Linked DNA regions of Homo sapiens: region 1 is linked to region 2. The links are contacts of gene promoters, found by promoter capture Hi-C in human tissues and cell types (Jung and others, 2019). All regions are on one chromosome and are shown on one strand. The core of a region is centred on a gene start or on the middle of the fragment in contact, and the rest is flanking DNA. Distances in the headings are between cores, read along the strand shown. Region 1 overlaps PTPRD (protein tyrosine phosphatase receptor type D). Region 2 holds the start of PTPRD (protein tyrosine phosphatase receptor type D).

Region 1 (7,693 bases), core at 3,656-6,155, 540 kb before region 2:
ATAAGCAATATTTGAAATAAAAGCCATCCTGTGCATTCGTAGACTGCCTTCAGACTTCTTTCAGGTTCAGTTTATTCCCACCATATTAAACAGTTTGTTTATCATTATAATCTTTGCCCTTCAGCAAAATTAGTTCTTTGTCCTCTTTTGGCTGCCAGATCCTATTCAGCCTTTTGGATCTGGCAGCTTGGTTTTATTGTGTCAACCCATGGTTTCTTCACAAAATGGCTTTCATCATTCTGCCTATCCCTGTGGCATTGTGCAGCTTCCATCTATCTGACAGGGAAGGGAGATAAGACATTTCCCCCAATCTTCTGAATAGACACAGGCTGGAGATGGTAACCCAGACTACAAGAATCCCAGAATATAAGAAGGCAACAAGGTCAATGAGTCTCATTACTAAGCAGAGTGCAAACAAGAAGTTGTTCCCTTTGTGATACTCCATTACAGTTCCAGGAGTGTGAGCACCTGCAGGAATCAGGCTGTGAACATTAGCCCCTTGCTGGTTTGTAGTGCTATACTATGCCAGGCTCCCTATTGGAGCTGGATTTTCTCCTCTACATACCTTTCCAAACTGCCTGACCATTTTTTAATTGTGAATAGCTCCAGTGGAGTTGCTCCCAGGATTTCTCTAGAGAAAATAATGCTTTTTCTTTCTCTCACAAAACCAGATACAGTTATTCAGAATTATGGTGCACAAGTCTGGTGTTTGATCAGTTAGCTTAACACTCAACATAATTAGCCACTGAGACTTGACTTTGACCCCAATACAAAAAGATTTCAATTTTAAAATTAAAAAGAAGTAGTGCATATGAGTAATGACTCATATTCTTAGTTTTAGGGAAAAAACAGAGATAATTGTGAATCAGAAGTCATACACTTTGACAATTATGACAATTATGAAATGAACAAACTGATATGTGTTGACATGTTTCTGTATCTTGCTTCAATTTTTCCTGCTTTTTAAAATAATTAATATCTACTAAATTATATATACTATAAAAGAAGAGATCCTATGTATTTGCTATTTAGCACACATAGTATAAATGATGCTCTAGGATACTATTTCAAAATATGTGCCATGAACACACTGATTATTGTTAAAACACATATTCTTGGGGTGAAACCAAGACCTACTGATTCCAAATTTTTGGTGTGAAGCAGGGGAATGTCAAAGATTAATAACAACAAAAAAGGTAATTCCCTTGCTCAGTAGAAGTGGAAATTACCAACATAGGACTAATATATGGGCCAGTTGGGCACAGAGAGGAAATTGGTTTTTATGTTGGCTTTTCTGGCTTAGGCAATAAACTGTCTGTTTTGTCCACTTTTTTGTCCATTGCACCATTTTTGACCCTGCAGCTTTTCAAGCTCTTCCATTCCCTCATTACTGTTTATCTTAATTACTTAAACAGTATTCAAAGAAATGACAAAGTCAAAGATAGAGGATTATAAAGTTTTTCTCTAACCTTTGTATGTACCTCTTGTTCAATAAAATTAATTACAGATTGTAATTTCTTTAAGTTGGGTTCAGCATCTTTGTAGCATTGAGAGTAATATTTAGCACAATAATTTATGCATTTCTATGAAAGATTTTCAGCTCTTTACATAAGAAATGCTGCAACAGAAAGTAACACTAGGAATAATTAAAACATGCATAAATTAACAACATTATATTTGAATAAAATTAAAAGAGTCATTTATGGAGATCATAAAATCACATTACTATATACTTCTTTGATTACATTTTAATTAATAACAGAAGTATTTAATCAGAAAAAATATTTTGCTTAGGATTTTTCAAAAAATTATGCAGTCAGTCTTTACATCAATGTTTCTTGTTAAAATGAAATTTTCAATGACTATTTAGTAAGTTTTATTATGTGTAAGACTCTCCACCGGCCACTATCATATATATTACAGTTAATTTCTAAGCTATTCTATCAGGAAGAGATTATGATTACCTTATTTTGTAGATTAAAAAAATAGAGTCATGAGTCCACAAAAATCCCTAGAATGAGCAAGTGAGTACAGCAAGTTTCAGGACAAATGGTAATTAGGGAAACATCAACTTCTTTCTTCCATATGAGAAATGAACAATTTGAATTTCAAATGTAAGAAAAGATTATGATAGTACAAAAATCAAATACGTGGTATAAATTTAACAAATGATGTACAGAATCTGTATGTGAAAAACTACAAAACTCTGATGAAAGAAATCAAAGAAAATCTAAATACATGGAGAGAGATTTCATGATTACAGATTGGAAGACTCAAACAATATTGCCAAGATGTCAATTTTTCCCTACATGAATATAGATCTAACACAATTTTCATTCAAATCCAAGCAAGATATTTTGTATATATGGATAACCTGATTCTTGATTGTAAAATTTATGTGGAAAGGGAGAAGGCATAGGATATCCAGAACAATAGTGGACATGAGGAACAAAGTTATATGACTCACTCTACTTGATTTCAAGACTTACCGTAGAGCTACAGTAACCAAGTCAGTGGGATATTGGTGGAAGAATACATGCATATCAATGAAACAGAATACAGAGTTCAGAAATAGACCTACACAAATATAGTCAACCCATCTTTGAAAAAAGAGTAAAGCCACTTCAGTGGAGAAAATCATTACCAGAAATGGTGCTGAAATGTGTATGTCTATATGCAAAAAAAGGAAAGAAACTAGACATAGAGCTAATAACTTTTATAACTCAAAACTCAAAAATTAACTCAAACAAGGATTGTAGGTCTAAAAATAAGTCTAAAACTCTAAAAATTCTAGAATAAAACATGAGAAAAATTTATGTGACTTGATTTGGTGATGAGTGTTTAGGTATAACACCATAAGAATGGTGCATATGAGTAATGACTCATATTCTTAGTTTCAGGGAAAAAAAACAGAGATAATCAATGACCAGAAATCATACACCTTGACAATTATGAGAATTATAAAATGAACAAGCTGATATATGTTGATATGTTTCTGTATCTTGCTTCAATTTTTTTCGTTTTTTTAAAATAATTATTATCTACTAAATTATATATTCTGTAAATGAAGAGATCCTGTGTATTTGCTACTTAGCACACATAGTATAAATGATGAAAAAATTGGTAAGGTTTACTTAATTAAAATTAATTATACTCTGTAAAAGAGAAGAAAAAGATTAAACATAGACTGGGAGAATATATTTGCAAATTACATATCTAATAATATACTTGTATATGAAATATACAATAATTCTTAAAACTCATCAATAAGAAAATAAAGCCATTCAAAACATAAGCAAAAGATATAGGTGGCAAGTTAAGTATATGAAAATATGCTCAATATTTCGCATCAGAGGAATGCAAATTAAAGCAACAATGAGCCATCACTACATATCTAGCAGAGTAGCTAAAATAAAATAAAATAAAAAACTGATCATGTCAATTGTCAGTGAGTATATAGTGTGTCCAGAGTTGGTTCCTTCCAGTGGGTTCGTGATCTTGCCGACTTCAAGAATGGAGCCATGGACCTTCGCAGTGAGCGTTATAGCTCTTCAAGATGGCACGAACCCAAAGAGAGAGCAGCAACAAGATTTATTGTGAAGGTCGAAAGAACACAGCTTCCACAGCATGGAAGGGGACATGAGCGGGTTGCCACTGCTGGCTGGGGTGGCCAGCTTTTATTACCTTATTTGTCCCCTCCCATGTTCCATTTTTGTCCTATCAGAGTGCCCTTTTTCCAATCCTCCCTGCAATTGACTGCTTTTAGGATCGTGCTTATTGTTGCATTTTACAGAGCACTGATTGGTGCATTTTACAATCCTCTTGCTAGCTACATAGCGCTGATTGGGGCGTTTTTACAGAGCACTGATTGGTGCACTTTGGAAGATAGTTGTGTAGTTTTCTGCAAAGCTACATGAAGTCTTATCATACGATCCAATTATCACTTTCTAGTTATTTACTAAACTGATTTGAAAATATATAGCCACATAAAATGTTTATAGCAGTTTTATTAATAACTTCCTTAAACTGGAAGCAACCAAGATGTCCTTCAGTAGGTGAATAGACAAGCAAATTGTGGTATATCCATAGAGTAGAATACTTCAACTTAAAATGAATGAGCTATTAAGCCATACAAAATATCGATTAATACATTTTGCTAAGTGAGCCAAACCAGTCCAAAATGGTGACAGGTAAAACTATAGAGATAGTAAAGAAATCAGTGGTTATATGGGGTTTAGTGGAGAGGAGAACGTTGAATAGATGAAGCCCACAAGGTTTTAGGGCAGTGAAACTTTACCTTATGATACTGTAATGGGATATATATATAGTTGTGGGATACCAGGATGGAATGCAGGCTGTAACATAAGACTCTGTATTACAAATTCAGGAAACAATCTCATTAAAGGGAGTAGGGTGAGCAGAAGGGGCTGCCATAAGTAACTTTGGAAATGAATGTTGTCTCTAAAACTAAAAGCAAAGGAAATTTCACATAAATACTATACTATAGTTGATAAAGTTGTCTGTCACTGTCACAGCCAAGAGGAGCCTACAGAGACATGATAATGAAAAACGGTATTCTGGATGTGATAGTAGAATAAAGAAATAACATTAGGTAAAAATTAAATAAATCCCAGTAAGCATGCACTTTAGTTAATAAAAGAGAAAGAAATATTTGATTTGCTAAAAATCCCAAAGCTGAAAGATGGCAGTTGGAAGATGGTTGGTGACTAGTTCCCCTGTCTAGTTCCTTTGCCTTTGAGTCCAGTGGTCTTCCTACTATGAGGAAAGAGGTCTCATCAGCATGCATTGGACAATGACTCATTTCTACATCGTTGACATGTGCCAATAGTTGAGGAACTAAAAGCCTCTTATTGACAAGGGCCAGATTATTCAACTAGATTATGTCACATTTATCCTCTACTCCCTGTTGTGAGTGAACTACTATACTGGGTTCTGAGAATTTTTGAAAGATTTTTCAAAAAGTGACTAATTTTCTTAAAATATACATTAATAGTTTATAAATTGTATGGACTGACATAACTTTTGAAACCAGCATAGCTAGAAAATTGAATTAAAGAGAAATTTCAAGTATTCTTGATAAGAGGTAAAGTGCACATAAAATACTGTGATGCTTATAATCACCAAATAAATATGCTCCAGGGTGAAACATTACCTTGTGTAAGCTGTCACAGAATTTGCGTGGAGGTATTTCAGATACCCACCACAATTTCAGTTATTCAAATGGCCTACTCAATTCTGCCGATGTTTACTGGATAGAATCATGGCATCATACAATATTTGGCTCCTCTCATTGGCCTGCTTATGTGCCATTTAAGACCATGGGCCAGTTGGCTTTATTTCTCATCTCTGCAGGCTCCTATAGTGGCCTGAGAATGTTTAGATAACTATAATATCCACAGCAATGCAAAATAGCTTGCAGTTTGTGAGACCAAATCCAAAGCCACTGCCATGTCTAGAAACACAGAAATAAAAGAATATGGCTCTATTCCAGTCCCTCATCATGCATCAATGTACTCAGGGTGTTATTGGCTCAGTTTGGATCTCTGGAACTTCTAAAGCTGACAGAGGAGTAGTATTTATTATTTTTAAAAGGTGTGAGAACATTAGAGGATCTGATTAATGTTTTGGATGCTCTTTTCAGAAAAAAATAATGCACAGACACATTCTATTTTCACTTGATTTCATGATGCTTTCTCTGATCCCACTAAAGCCCATGGATAGCAGTTAATGTCACCAGTTTTTGAGGTTATTCAGAAATTCCTCTGTACCAGCTCTGATTTAGAGGAAAGAGTGGGCTCCTGTGAACTTCCTGCACATGTTGTGCATTCAGCTTATGTTTCCAAACCAGAGTAGTGGGAAGGAAATGATAAGCTCTGCTGAAGCACACACAGTATATATAGCATCAATCCGAAGCCATCTGAAATGTTGTAATATAGCCACCATTTCAGGCCTCTAGTAATGATGGAAGCATTGCTTCCCTAAACCTCTTTATGAAAGATTTTTATTTCTCCAGAAGTTTTTGAGAAATATTACTTAGTCAAACGATTTAGGTGTCCTTTCCTTTCAATAAGTGAGGAGATAGGGGAAGAGAGAGAAAAATAAAATTTGAATAAATCCCAAATTTATAAATTCATTCTGTGTGGATTTCATGGAGTAATAAGTTATTGATGCAAATATTGATATGGGCATCACATGAAGATTTTCAGTGGATTATATTCATTTCTGTCAACGAATAAAATACAGTGAAATAAGGCTTGTATCTTTTGCTGAGTACTTGCAATAACCTACATTCATTTTTATTACTGAAAACCTACTTGCTAAAAATGAGACCCCCCGAAGGTGCATAATTATTATTAACTACAAAGCAAAAACTTAGTACATTATTTGACATCTACTTTTTTCCACATTTTATTTTTATAGTCTCCAGGATAATTGTGAAAAAACAGATTCAAAACATATCTAAGCCAACTATGAAAGTAATTTACTTACTTTATGGCATGCTCATTCATTTTCCACAGTATTTCTCATCTTGTTATTGATATAACTTTTTATAACTTATTTGATTTATATACTTTATTATTTTATGAAATAAATAATATTTTATATTAATCCATCATGTATTTATTGTTATGATTATGGGGGATTTTAATCAGTTTTGTTCACTGATAAATCACAAGTGTCTAGACAGTACTTTGTGCATAGAAGGCACTCAGTATATATTTGCTCAATGAATACATCATTTTTTTCATCTTTGTTTCTCTCATTTTCTGGGGGGGAGGGGGAAAATTGGTTGTGCTCTGGATAAAAGTGAGTTATTATATTAGACATACAATTCCAGGATCTTTGTAAAATTGAAGCTTTAGAGTCTACCTTAAATTTTAAACACACTAATTTTTCAAATAACCAAGGGCTGAGGTTCTTTTCATTTCTAGAAGCATCTATCCAAGATATCTGCTTCATCTTCTATAACGATATGTTATGAATATATTTTCTTCTACATAAATGCTTTAAAGAAGTCTTCACACTCACAGTTTTCTTTCCATGGAGTAGCAAAAATATTCTACTCAGAGTACGCCCTGAATCAGTTAAACTAATAATCTATTTTGAGTTCCTGACAAAGGTTATTAAATTCTGGCCTCAGTACCTCCATAATGGTTACCTGATCTATTCCCTCTTCCCATTTTCACTGCCAACATCTTCATATTCCCATTATTTGTCATTTAAAGTACTGTATGTGGCCCTCTGGCTTCTTGAGTGCAGGTTTGAGGGTCTACGTCTTGCACTGCCTGCCGCCTCTATCTCCCTCATCTCCAGTTTTATTTCCAGTACTTCCACGTACATGCTGCAAGCTATCTTCTTGAACCACGGTACTCATCATCCTATACTGCTCAAAAACCAGCTGGGGAGAAAGGTTTAAGAGCGGGTGTAAACCTTATCTCTGTGGGAAGATTTTCTCAGATTTACCTTCCTCAGCTCTGTTTCTTTGGAAATGTAGGAAAAGGAAACTGTGTTACTAGGCATCATTGCTTATTAACTCTGACTGGAGGACTGCATCTGTACTGGGAGGACCCTGAATGGATATATAGACCCTGAAGGTCCATATGATAAAACTCTATAAAAACATGCAGTAAATGAGAAGCCTTAACCTCACTGTTTGGTGCTTCTTGGAAAA
Region 2 (7,469 bases), core at 2,987-5,486:
TCATTTTTTGATTCTTCATTAATTCTTCTTCATTCAGTGAATTTTAAGAGTTTTGAAAAGCTTGTTACAAGTACAGTTAATGTCTACATTGTTTGACTGTATCAGGAGACATTTATTTATTCTTTACGGATGCCAAATGCTTTTGACAATCCTAAAAAAATAAAACAGTGAACCGACAGTAGTGGTAAAGAAATTGCACTTTAATACATAAGAAGATAAGTTCAAATGGCATTGAACTGGGTACAAAATTCTACTTATTTAATTTTCATTATAACTTTTAAATTAGCATTCTTGAATATTTGTCATATCATTTGCATTGTTAAAGTTTATTAAATTCAGGATAGGTGTAAGCCCAAAAATATGTAACTGAAATTAAAGTGTTTCCTCCAAACAACAGAGAGAACTTGAAATAATGTTATTTGCTGCATTAAATGTGAGACATACATAGATAGTAGCTAGATCAATAGAGACACATGGATAGATATATTTAATTCTGTAATTTTGAAAATCACATTTTTTTCAGAATTTTCTAAAAAGACATTAAGTAGGTAAGTTTCAAACATGTAACATGCATTTCAGGTCACCTATTATCAAATTATTATATAAATTCTGTTCACTCACCACCCTCTACCATAATCCAGTTTTAGAATTGTAAAGTTACATTAATCACACTTCTCTAACTGCAGAACAGTTTACACCAGTGGTAACCACAATAATTGTCATGTGCACTATTAGTCATTCCTAAAATTTTAACATAATATTCTGCTAATTCTTGGATATAACTAGCAATATTTTAGCTTTTCACTTACTCTCCAGCATTATTAAAGAAAAATGTGCATTTGCAGAACTCTGCACCTGCATACATTTGGATTCCTGCATCCTACTAGTAATACACAGGAAAGATATCATGGCATTCCATAAAGAATAAAGCAAAAAAAGTTATGAATAGCTCAACCTTCCAATATCACATCTAATTAGCATTGTTTTCTTTCTAAATTAAGTGTATTTAGTAAATAGTAATCATGCCTTGAGTTCCATAAAATATAAGACCATGTGGTCAACAAAATCATCTTTATGTTGCTATAGTTACAAGAGTAGGCTTGTAAATTTTATGTTAATATTAAAAGAAAAGAAAAACATGTTTGCCTTCACCAACAGCAACTGAAAGCAAATGCAGGTATACAGCACTTTATTAGAAAGAACCCCTTTAGTAAGCACATGTAAGAGGAATTAATCATTCATTCCCTGCAGACTGCTTATGTATTTCATCGGGCCATTATCTGATCTGAATAACAAGAACAATTGCATAATAAAACACATTACTGCTGACACTAGCAACTTTCTTCTCAACTTTAAAGTTGCAACTACCTCTGTACAGGACAGAGAGCTGGTGGCCAAAAAGGTGACAATTTAATCACCCATCCTGCTTTGCCATTTTTATCTGTTATTATATAGAGACAGGGATCAAATGCATGTGCAAGCTTTACTAGAAACAGCTTTCATTCAGGCTATTTTCCTTAGCACTATGACATAATTACAACAGAGGCAGAATGTATGTCAGGTTAGTTTTAATGTTACTTACAAATATTTGCTTTCAGAAATTCAAAAAGAATGCACAAATCTGTCATGTCTTCTCTACTGTGTAAAATATGTCCTATACTAATATATGTAATAACATGTTTGAACCACTGTTAAATTTGCCCTACTTAGGTACAATCTTCCCCTTTATTTTTCAATAATTAAGTTTTTTTTTTTCCAAATATCAGATAGCCTCTCGGACATGTGAGGTCAGAAATGAGTAGAGGTTATGTGCTATAATCCAAATCTGATCAGCCAAGGGCTTCATTTTAAATCACTTAAATTCATTTTTAAACCAATAATAGAAATGTTAGCTAAGAGCAGTAATATGTCTAAGAAAACTCATTTGGATAAGAAATTAAATAATAATCAAGAAACAATGACACATCTTTCTCAAATGATTCCATATATGATAACTTCATGTCAACCAATTCATTAACTGTTCTATTGTCCTGTCTCATTACCCTAAAAACTTATGGCCCAAGATATTTAGAGCTTTCAACACTGAGTAATCAAAACAACTCTAAAACATCTCTACTTTTTTGTAATAATTGTAACTTAGCTTACTCTTATAATTTCTAAAACCAATCCCCCATGAATACAGATGCTTTTATATACTCACTTAAGTAAATAAGGAGGTAAAAATATACTCATTCTACCATTATCAACAATTAAATACAAGGAAGCCCTTAGGTATAATTAATAATAAGCTGCTTTATTGAAAGAAATTCTCTGAGATAAGTACTTTTACTTTTCAATCTGGTTTTTAACTTATAAGGGGTTTTTATTAAAAAGTATGTATTATACTGAGAAAGAAATTAACAGTTAAAGATAAAAGGGATAAACTTTTTCTAATCACTATTAGACTCTAGTCAGTATAAGTACTACCATGTCAAAAAACTTAGGATTTGTTAAAAATCAGGTCTGTTTTGTCTAAGTTGCAACTCCTACTGTATCTACTGTATATGTAACAATGCAAGAAGAATTAGATTCAGAATCCATTTGGCAGTGATAAAGAAAAAAATGCTGAAATGTTATTGATTCTCTCCCTCTTGTGCAAAACAAACTGAGTCAACTATATTTTTCCTGACATAACACAAAGGTTTTATTTAGATATTACAAAATATTGGCAAATGTTAGACTACATGTTTTTTATATATATGTATAATGAACTTATTAACCCTTTTGTAGAAAGAAGAGTGTCCTACTTCTGTAAAAAGAAATGCTACAGCTACTGACATGGTGATGTTAGCCCCAAGAGGAATACTGCCTGCAAAAGTTTTTGATGCAGAGATATTCAGCCTTAGGAGACACCTTAAACCTGTCACTGGCTGCTGAGCCCTGTCAGAGTTTATAACCCGCTGTGTCAAAGTCACAGTCTCAGCCCTGCCCTCTCCAAAGTATTTTTCACATTCTCTCTCCAAATTAAGTTCATTCTAATTCTCCAACTATTCTAGTTCCAGGATTTTCCTCCAATTATTATCTCCTTACAGGCATGAAGAAATCGCAACAGAATTTTCATCTGGTCTTTCAAACCATCCTTATTAACTTTCCCTTTTCCGCCCCCCCCCCCTTTTTTTTTCTAGAGCTTTTCAGAACTAAAGATAAAACAACCAACCAACTGAAGTCAGAGTAGGGTGGGAGTTAGCATGGATTAGGGCTGAGGTTGAAGGTGGCAGGAGAAGTGAGCCAGTAGGGTTAGATTTTTCAAGCTTTTTCTAGATAACCACCCTTAAATCTTAGAACCAACCAATGTTTAACAAAGCAGGCTTCCAATAGCCCTTGAACAATAAACGTTTAAAAATCAGTTTTCCAGTAAGGCTGCCCATACTGATCCCATATCGAAGTCTTCTAAGGGCTCTTCCAAAAAAAAAAAAAAAAGAAAAAAATGCTTAGCGAACCACTTCTCAAATAGGAGCTACTGAAGTTATATAAGTCAAGTTATTCCCAGGTAAAATGAATAAACTGTCCACAGCATTGGACATTGGGCATTGAAAAGCATCAGCATATGCTTCACTTTAGAGAAAAGAAAGACAGAAGCACAGTTTACTTACTAAAGCAGCCGCTCCAGTCCTCCTTGGAAACCCTGAGGAGTCTTCTCTTTTCTTTCCTACCAGTCAAATAAAGAATTGTCTTTCTATTCCACACAGGCCCAGAATAAACTGCAAAAAGGGATGGCACATGCACAGCAGCCCGTCAGGGTTTGGCTTTGGTGGGGTGCTTCGATTTCTGATTGTTTCAAAAGTGGGATCTTCTTTTCCGGAGGGAGGGGGCAAAGGAAGAAAAAGAAAGCGCGCTCGGAAAGCCGGCTTGGGTCCTGCTAATTATTCTGAAGGCAAAGTACCTGCACTCTCCCCGCCGAGGCTGGCTGGCGGCGCCGCGCCGGAGGGGAGGAGGCTCGGGAGGAGGAGGAGAAAGAGCAGCGGGAGGACTCGGGCTGGGAGGGGAGCGCAGGGTTGGGGAGGCCGATGAGCGGCTCCCGGCTCCTCGGAGAAGCAGCCGAGACGGCAAGGAGGAGGCGAGGCTCTGTCGGGGCGAGGCGCTGCCCCCACGCGCTCCGGCCGCCGGCTGCGGGCGCGGCTGGGCGGGGAGCCGAGGCGGCCGCTCCCGCACTCGCTCGCTCGCTCGCTGGCGCTCCCTCCTCGTCTCGCTCGCACTCACAGGCACACACCCCACGTCTCCAGCAGCTGCCGCTCGGCCTCACGCACTCACCTGCATTTCCTTAACGAGCCACTTGATGGCTGCCAGCGGCGTGGGCCCCGCTCCGGCGGGCGGGGGCCGGGGCGGGGAGAACGCGGCGCGGGATGCTCCGAGCGCCCGCTGGGGAGAGAAGCGGCGGCGGCGGCGGCGCTGCGGGCGCGCCAGATGGGGCGGGAGGAGGGGAGACCCGGCACCCACCGGCCCAGAGCTGCCTGACGCGGCCTGGGCGGACCCCGCCGCCCGGGTGCCTAGGCACGATTCCAGGGATCCAGGGTAAAGCGGTTCGCGCGGGAACAGGAGGATATGTCAGGCACAGGCTATTCCCCATCACTATAGCCACAGAGGACTGGTCCAGATGCGGATCCCGATCTGTGCTTCTTCAGGTGTTCGCGTGCTTTCGGTTATTATTATTATTATTATTTTCCGAGGGAGGCTGTCGGTAACACCTAAGGGGTAGTGGGTGTTAATAGCTGGGGGACGTACATTTGATTTGCAATGGAATCGATGCTTATGAAGAGCAGACTTAGGGAGGTGAAGGGCAGGGGCACAGGGGTTGCTTGGCGGAGGGGGTGTACTTCGGCTGAGCTGGATGGAGTTTTCAGTCGGGGCGCTTGGCAGTCTGGCTGGGCTTGAGGGAGGGATAGAGCTCTGCCAAGGTGGTAGCTGAGAAGGGAAAACCTGTACAAGAGTTGCTGAGAATATGCCTCGCTGCAGAGGAGAGGACATGGATGCAGGGAGCGGATTCTTCCCCACCTCCTCCTTACCCCAAGGTAGAGTGGGGTATCGGAGTGCATCAGATGTGGTGTACCACAGACTCGGGAGACAGGGGAGGAGGAACTTAGACCCCCAGCGAAACTAGAAATAAGGTTTGGAGCTGGGGGGAGAAGAAGGGGCAGGATGAGAGAAAAACAGCAGGAAGCTTTTTGTCATTTTACTATCTTTCATGTCTCATCAGAGCATACAGCTATAGGCAACAAATGCTCTGTCTCTTGATAAACAGAGAGCAATGTCACCATGTCGGTGCGTTTTCTAAAAAGCCAAAATAATTATCCTGTTTGTAATATGCAACACAGAGCATTCCAGGTACCATCTGGTCAAAGGTTCTGTAAGCACTGTAGAAGAAAACAAATAAAAAAAGAACAACGAAAAACCAGTTATCCATCTACTTTCCTTATATGTCAATGATCTAATCGCAGAAATGTCACTTTCTCCCGAAGAGAAATAAAGCTTAGTCACTATAGGTGGAATTTTCCCCAGGGTCCCTTCACCTTTTTCTTTTCATACCTTCTCCACTGCTTGCTGTGTCCCTTTGCTCTTTAAAAGGGACCCTTCTCCTGAACCCACGCGCTGCCGGGTTCCCTGCTCAGCCTCCCTAAAGCCACGGAGCCTACCCATCCAAGAAGGTTCCCATGCACAAACAGTCATCATCACTTAAAAAGGTTCTTGGAAATGACAAGATATGAACGAAAAAAAATTACACCATATGTGCAAGTGTGTGTGCATGTGTACATATTTTTGTAATTATACAAAGCACTTGCCCCTCTTACGGTGCTGTCTCCCCAAGATGATGATGACTGACTCATATTCTCTCTCTCTCCCTCCCTCCTTCTCCCTTTCTGCACAAATACACACCACTCACTCCTGTCTCAGTTCCTTCCTGTCAGTGTTCAATAATGGTTTTACATGAACTTTCTGTTAGGCAGCCTCTGACTACCAAGGGCGAGTTGGAGTGGATTGGTAGGAGGGAGGCTGGTCTCAATGATGCCGCTCTGTTTCCTGCCATCCCTCAGTCATTACATACACTACTGTACTTAATGCCAAGTAGAAGCAGAAATGATTTCCTCTCTTGCTAGTCACAATAATATATTTGTCCTCCCTCAGAAACACAAGTAATTAATAATAAAAGAAATAATGCATCTTGAAACCATGGGAAGAGCAGATGGAGGCTGATGTGGTTGTGTTAGTCACCTTTTCTGTTGTTGTTGTTGCAAAGACAACGTGACCACCTCTCCCTTTCTACTGCTTCTGGTGGGTTAAGCAAAGCATTTGGCCCTTTTACTGTATTCTCTTTTCCATCTTTCCCTTGACAATAGTTTGTGTGTTTTAAGTAAAGATTTCATTCTGCCAACCCGCAGGAAGCTTTTAACAAGATGCAGCTGAGCGTGTCGATATCTTATATCTTTTTACTGCTGCATGGGGGTGTTCAGCAACTTGAAACTCTTCTCTACTTCAGCTCCAGGCTGGGATCTCACAGAGACAGTGCTCCCTGGGGCTGATTTACTCTTGCTCCTGTACAACTATCCTTTGGTGTCCTCTGGAAAACAAAGAATATTTTAAACAATGGAAGAATCAGTGTTATACTCAATCCCCTTCCTCCTACCTCCTCCCCACATAATAATATCACAAATGTTCAATGGATTAGCTTATTGTAGAGATTTTATTATTAATTACATCTGAGAATTGGATTGAGATATCTTACTTGAAGGTGATTGCACCAAGCTTAAGGAGTTAAGAAAATTTTATTATCTAACTACCTAGCTACACTTCCTGTAACATTATAATTTATTTCTCCTTCTTCAATAAAAAGGCAGATGCAAATGTCCGCTTTAAGTTATTGCCATATATTTACTCTTAAAAATCAGTAACCTATCTGAATTGGTTGTTGTCAGTGGACCACGTGTTTAAAACAACCATAACAAATGTAAGATAAAAATAACCAAAAAGGGACAGTGAAATTGGGCCAACAAAGCATGGTCCTGAATATCAGTTGCTTTGAGGTTCCCTTTATTTTAACACATTTCTTTATTTATCAAATCTACATTTAGCTTTGTTATATATAGGCTTATAATTAATTTTAACAGCCTGCTGTAAGGAGAAGAAATCTCAAAATTTACATTTGTATTTTGGATTTTTGAGGGAAATAAGTAATTTCCTTCCTGACTCAGTTTTTAAATTAGAATTTGCAATACATAAATAGCAACTACACAGCAATAATTTCCTGTTCTAGTATGTTATTTAAATGTTTTGAGAGCATCATGAGGAAATTTCCTAATTATACAGCACTCCATATTGTGGAATTGAATAAAGAGATAATTCCATATTGTGGAATTGAATAAAGAGATAATTCCATAGTGTGGAATGGAATAAAGAGATAAAAGGGTAATAAGGAAGCCAGGGAGAGCAAGTAACCT

Evidence for each region. The method cuts DNA at HindIII sites, captures the fragments that hold promoters and counts their contacts. A contact is called where the count stands out against the background at its distance.
Region 1: a contact is called between a fragment that was not itself captured here and the fragment with the promoter of PTPRD in region 2, in 1 of the 25 tissues and cell types used here (dorsolateral prefrontal cortex).

The regions. Positions count from the first base shown.
Region 1 is chr9:10,068,889-10,076,581 of GRCh38, forward strand. The region is part of intron 3 of PTPRD (protein tyrosine phosphatase receptor type D); the gene reads right to left. Among named protein-coding and RNA genes, the nearest start is that of PTPRD, 540 kb to the right of the region's middle. The HindIII fragment of the contact is 5,569 bases long and covers 2,122-7,690 here.
Region 2 is chr9:10,608,766-10,616,234 of GRCh38, forward strand. It overlaps PTPRD (protein tyrosine phosphatase receptor type D), which reads right to left and starts at 4,237. Exons shown (of 46, transcript NM_002839.4): 1 at 3,923-4,237; 2 at 3,633-3,740. It overlaps PTPRD-DT (PTPRD divergent transcript), which reads left to right and starts at 4,441. Exons shown (of 3, transcript NR_110696.1): 1 at 4,441-4,661. RefSeq lists a silencer at 4,182-4,391. The HindIII fragment of the contact is 2,966 bases long and covers 2,386-5,351 here.